Linked DNA regions of Homo sapiens: region 1 is linked to region 2. The links are contacts of gene promoters, found by promoter capture Hi-C in human tissues and cell types (Jung and others, 2019). All regions are on one chromosome and are shown on one strand. Each heading gives the region's core, a stretch centred on a gene start or on the middle of the fragment in contact. The rest is flanking DNA. Distances are from core to core; before and after follow the strand shown. Region 1 overlaps LOC105378675 (a long non-coding RNA gene). Region 2 holds the start of ZFP69 (ZFP69 zinc finger protein).

What was found. Contacts are between HindIII fragments. The study calls those that stand out against the background at their distance.
Region 1: a fragment that was not itself captured here is called in contact with the fragment with the promoter of ZFP69 in region 2 in 1 of the 25 tissues and cell types used here (pancreas).

What each region holds. Positions count from the first base shown.
Region 1 is chr1:40,667,005-40,669,781 of GRCh38, reverse strand. It overlaps LOC105378675 (a long non-coding RNA gene), which reads right to left. Exons shown (of 2, transcript XR_947238.3): 2 at 2,106-2,777. It also overlaps a transcript of RIMS3 not described here. Among named protein-coding and RNA genes, the nearest start is that of RIMS3, 2.7 kb to the right of the region's middle. RefSeq lists enhancers at 612-661, 722-871. The HindIII fragment of the contact is 3,607 bases long and covers 1-2,777 here.
Region 2 is chr1:40,475,914-40,478,752 of GRCh38, reverse strand. It overlaps ZFP69 (ZFP69 zinc finger protein), which reads right to left and starts at 1,463. Exons shown (of 6, transcript NM_001320179.2): 1 at 859-1,463. RefSeq lists a silencer at 1,255-1,724. The HindIII fragment of the contact is 19,716 bases long and covers 1-2,839 here.

The DNA.
Region 1 (2,777 bases), core at 259-2,758, 190 kb before region 2:
TTCAAAAAAATCTTTGCACCCAAACTCCTTAGCTTGGTCCTGGTGTACTTTATTCAGCCCCATCTGTGGTCTACCCCCAAACTCAGAGCATATAGATCACTGCTCCTCCCCCAAGCCCCACTTGTCATCCAGCCCACCTTAGTAAGTGCCACCCCACTACTCTCTCTCCACAAGATGCAGCTTGGAGGACGTCTCCTCTGGGATCCCTCCCCACTGCCCCCACCGCTTCCTGGGGTGAATGAGTCCTCTGTAGCCATCAGGATTCGCTGTATCAGGAGTGTTCCTCTGCTGTCACCTCTGATGACTATTTTCCTCAATTCAGAATCCCCAGCACCTGCAAAAGGCCTGGATAAAGGTAAACCTCAAAAAAGTTTGTTTTATTGAATTTTCCCAAAGGTTTGGCTTTATTACATTAAGAGCTGAGGCCAGGAATGTGGCAGTAAATTCTGGTGCCACCACTTAGAAAGACAAGTCACTTTTTTCAAGCCTCAGTTTCCGTCCATCAAATGGAGATAAGAATACAGTGCACCTACCTCGAAGAGCTGTTTTGAGGGGAAAATGAAATATGCTAGGTTAAGTGTTTAACACAATGCCTGGAACATGGTTAGTTCCCTCAAAAAATTAGCTGTTATTTATTTATTTTTAAATTCTCGCCTTGATGCTCAGAAGGGGCTGAGCAGGAACAGAGGATTGCAGTTCTTAGGATGGCCACGCGAGGGAAGTGGTGAGCAGCCTCCAGGAGGACTTCGGCTCGGCTGTGCCAAGGCACCTGCTGAGGACCCAGATGGCCCGCCTGGGGTTTCCGGGACTTCCCGGCCCCTAAACATGTGGGCGCTGGCCAGAGCGCCGCAGGAGAAGCCTCTGCCAGGTGCTCGGTCTCGACTCTCACAGCCCCAGCCATCCCTCCTGCTCGTCCCCGTCTCGGCTTGGAGGGGCTGGCGGGCAGGAGGGGACAGGGTAGGGGGCAACCAGGATATATCCCCTCCGTTTTGTCATTTGTCTTTCAAACTGACTTATGGCCATTTCTTCTGTATAGAAGCCTTGTAGTCAAACATTTCCATGTTTTCTCTTATGGCTTCTAGGTTTCATCATGCTTAGAAAGTCTTTTCCATCTCCAAGATTATTAAAATATTCACTCATGTCTTTTTTCTGATACATTATGGTGTTAAATATGTGGTCCACCTGGAATTTATTTCAGTGTCGAATAAGGGCACAGCTTTTTGTAATTTCCCCAAAAGACTTGCTGGTTATTCCACCCATTTGATCTCCGCCACCAACCCCCCCCCCCCCGCCCACAACCCCCTACCAACTCCGCCCCCCATTTGTCTGAAGTGCTGTCTTTTATTCATTCATTCATTTAGAGACAAGGTCTTGCTCTGTTGCCCAGGCTGGAGTGCAGTGGCGTGATCACAGCTCACTGCAGCCTTGACCTCCCAGGCTCAGGTAATCCTCCCACTTCAGCCTCCCTGGTAGCTGGGACTACAGGTGTGTGCAATCATGCCCAGATAAATTTTTTTTTTTTTTTTTTTTTTGAGACAGAGTCTTGCTCTGTTACCAGGCTGGAGTGCAGTGGTGCGATCTCAGTTCACTGCAACCTCCGCCTCCTGGGTTCAAGCGATTCTCCTGCCTCAGTCTCCCAAGTAGTTGGGACTACAGGTGCATGCCACCACACCCAGCTAATTTTTGTATTTTTAGTTGAGACAGGGTTTCACCATGTTGGCTAGGATGGTCTCAATCTCTTGATCTTGTGATCCGCCTGCCTCGGCCTCCCAAAGTGCTGGGATTACAGGTGTGAGCCACCGCCCCCGGCCACAAGTTTTGTATTTTTTTATAGAGACAAAGTTTTGCCATGTTGCCCAGGCTAGTCTCAAGTGATCTGCCCGCCTCAACCTCCCAAAGTTTTGGGATTACTGGCATGAGCCACTGTGCCGGGCCTGAAGTGCTATCTTTATCATACATTGAATTCCCTTGTGGGGCTGGATCCATTTCCATACTCCATTTTGTTCCACAGATCGGTCTAGTCCTGCTTCAATACCATACTGCTTTAAATACATTGACTTTATAGTATGTTTTAGTATCGGGTAAGACAAATCCCTTTTCATTACTTTTCTTCCTGGACTTTTTATTCCTGTATGTTTATTCTTCTATATACACTTAAGAATCAACCCCCTCTCCACCCACCTCCCATCCAGTCCTTCTGGTAACCAATATAGAACTTTGAAGATACTGAAATTATATGCAAAATATACATTGCACATCTCCAGAGAGATAGTGCTAAGTTTTCATCAGATGTGCAAAGGGAACCCCTGGTTTACCTGTCTCTGTGAAAGGGGCCAGGGAGGAGCACACAGGAAGCCTGATTCCTCTCTGTGCTCCCACCCCTCACCTCCACCCTCGTTCCAGGTCCTGCCCTGGCCTCCATCCCACCTCCCCTAATCTAGTCCCCCTTGCTGCTCCAGAGTAACCCATTCTACCACCCAGGCCCTAGTCCAGGCCTAGGCCTGAGGTAGAATAGCTGATAACAAAGCTTTAATTAATATGTAAATATAATCAGGAGCCCCAGCTCCACCTCTGACCAGCTATGGAACGCACTTTGAGGCTTTTCACATTGTAGGGCCTCAGTTTATGCTTCTCACAGACCAGGTGAGAAGGGAAGGCGTAGGATGACTATGCCTCCTAGCAATCCCCAGGAGGATCCTTTAATCCCAATAATTTTCCTTTTTCTCCCCACCTTCCCACTCCCCATTTACTTTTTTTTGAGACAGAGTTCCCCCTGT
Region 2 (2,839 bases), core at 214-2,713:
CAACTCTCAGCTTCAGTTTCTTAATCTATAAAATGGAGATAATAATTGTATTCTATAGAGTTGTAATGTTGGTTGAGACAATGCTAGGCATACAGTAAACCCTTAATGAACATTGTTATAAACCTGTTATCATATTGCTGAATCATAGTATTAATTTTTAAAGTTATTTTTAGAAACCATTAAATCTGAATTTAAAGTTCAAAATATCTCAACTGACAGAATAATGACATAGCTGCATTTTGGCATGAACAAGCAGTGACAGCCACGTCACCACCCACGCAGATGCCCAGCAGCTGGCAAGTTCCTTGGAACCACACTGGGAAGATGCATCTTGGTTTCAGAAATGTTAAAATTGGGGAAGAGGGTATGTCTTCAAATGGTGTAAATTTAGTATAATGAGGACTACTGCAGAATAGTAATAGGCAAATTTGGAAACAACTCAAATCCATCATCTCAACCAAACCCTAGAATCTGAGCAGGTGCTTTGACCGTGACCAGGTCCAAAGTATACGGCACTCCAAGAACAGTCGGAGCTACGTGGGAAGGGAGCTGGCCCAACTTTTTGAAGTTTGTTGGAGAAGGATGGGTATGTGACTTATAGGCGTGTGTGTGTGTGTGTGTGTGTGTGTGACTATATGCAGAGACAGGAGCTGCGTGTGTTCTAGGAATTGGAGCTTGTGAGAAATATCCCACCCCTGAATACATAAAAAGTCTTGTTACCAAAGTGCACGAATTTTCGAATCTTACTCGGGAAACAGTTAATGGCTGAGAAGCTTCATATCGAAGATGCCCCACCCTCACAGTGCTCCCAGACATGCCACCCTCGGACTCAAAGACTGCACACAGACTCCTACTCACCACATCGGCCTTGGACCCAGGTAGGACCAGAGACGGGGGCGTGGGAGTGCTCACTCTTGAGGTTTTCAGCGGTAAAGAGTGTCTCTTTAGAGACGGACTGAGTGGTAACAGATATTGTTCCCTCCCGGCCTTTTATAGACAGACCACATCTCCACTCAACGCAATCATTCTCCAAGAAGCGTCCAGCGTTGAGGTCGGCTTCCTTCGGAAGCCCGGAGGACCCTCGGCCTCCGGAGTGGACGAGGGTCTGCTCCACATTCCCATCAAGGGCCCGCCCAGGCGGGTGGGCTTTCCCAGCAGCGCCCCCAGGAGCGAGGCTTTGAGGGCCGGAATGGGAGGGATGCCCTGAGCCGGCGTCTTGCAGACCCCGGGGAGGATACACCTCCCTGGCTGCCGCTTTAACACGGGGCTGGCGGCTGCAGCCAAGCCCACCCAGCCTGGCCTCTTAGGCCGCAGCCGGGTGTCTCGCCTGGCCTCTGCCTCCGGCCGCGCCCTCCCGGCCGCTTGCACCGCCGGCCGCTCTCGCTGCAGCCCTGGCGGTCCCGGGGCCCACCCCACGCGGTCCCGCTGCAGCTGCCACAACCCGCGCGTCTTCCGGCGGGTTGTGAGCCCCGGCCGCCGGCTCCGCCCACAGGGGGCTGCCACGGAGCCCGCCCTCTCCCGGGAAGCAGCGCGCGCCCTCGAACCCGGAAGCTGGAAGCCGCCCGAGCGCGCCCCCGAGGGCCGTCCGGAACCGTGGGTAGCGGCCACCCACCCACGCCGCCCCCCGTTTCCTCACAGCGGTCCTTGGGAGACCTCCTTCAGCCTTTCCGGTGAAGCGCCTTCCCTGTCATTCATTCATTCACTCATTCATTCATTCATTCATTCAGTTATCTATTCTGAGTGTGTAAGATCTACCCCCACATTCTTATTGGCCCTGCGTATACAGCAGTTAACAAAACGCAGTTCCTGCTTTCTTGGAACTTAATTACATTGAAATTAATTGACAATAACAAATAGAAAAATAAATAGATAATACCCCAGGCGATTGTGAGGACCATGAAGAAAAGGAAAGCAGGGTGGGGAGATGATGGGCTAGGATATTTGTATCAACCCACTGTAGAAAACAACAATAAAATTTAAAAATAAAATTCTGGAATACGTGTGTGTGTGTGTGTGTGTGTATGTGTATATATATATACATATATATATAATATATAAATTTGTTTTTGAGACGGAGTTTCGCTCTTGTTGCCCAAGCTGGAGTGCAGTGGCGCGATGTTGGCTCACCGCAACCTCTGCCTCCCGGGTTCAAGTGATTCTCCTGCCTCAGCCTCCAGAGTAGCTGGGATTACAGGCACGCATCACCATGCCTGTAATTTTGTATTTTTAGTAGAGATGGGGTTTCTCCATGCCTGAGCGACAAGAGCAAAACTCCATCTCAAAAAAAAAAAAAAAAGAAGAAGAAGAAGAAGACCCTCCTTACAATAACTGGGACCCCAAAGGGCAACAGCCTCAGGGTGAGGATGAATTGAAAATGGAACAGCTTAAAAGGAATTTACAGACTGCATCAAATTGCCTGTCTCAGACATTATCTTGGTTTAAGACTGTCTCTGACTATGGTGTCACCAGATGCTTGGCAAAAGCAAATAGGTGGAGGAAAGCCTTATAATTGTAGGGCCGACATTTTTCCTACACATAAGTTTTCATAGACAATGTCAAATACAGAATTAAAGATAACCAGGTACACAAAGAAACTAGATTCTTAGTGAGAACCAGCAGAAACACAAACATTGGAAATAGACCTGCAGAAACAACTGCTTTTAGAATTATTTGATGCAAACCGCAAAATAATATTTTCTTGGGCTGGACACAGTGGTTTATGTCTATAATCCCAGCACTTTGGGAGGCCAAGGCAGGTGGATTGCTTGAGCTCGGGAGTTCAAGACCAGCCTGGGCAACATGGCAAAACCCTGTCTCTACAAAATATCAAAAATTAGCC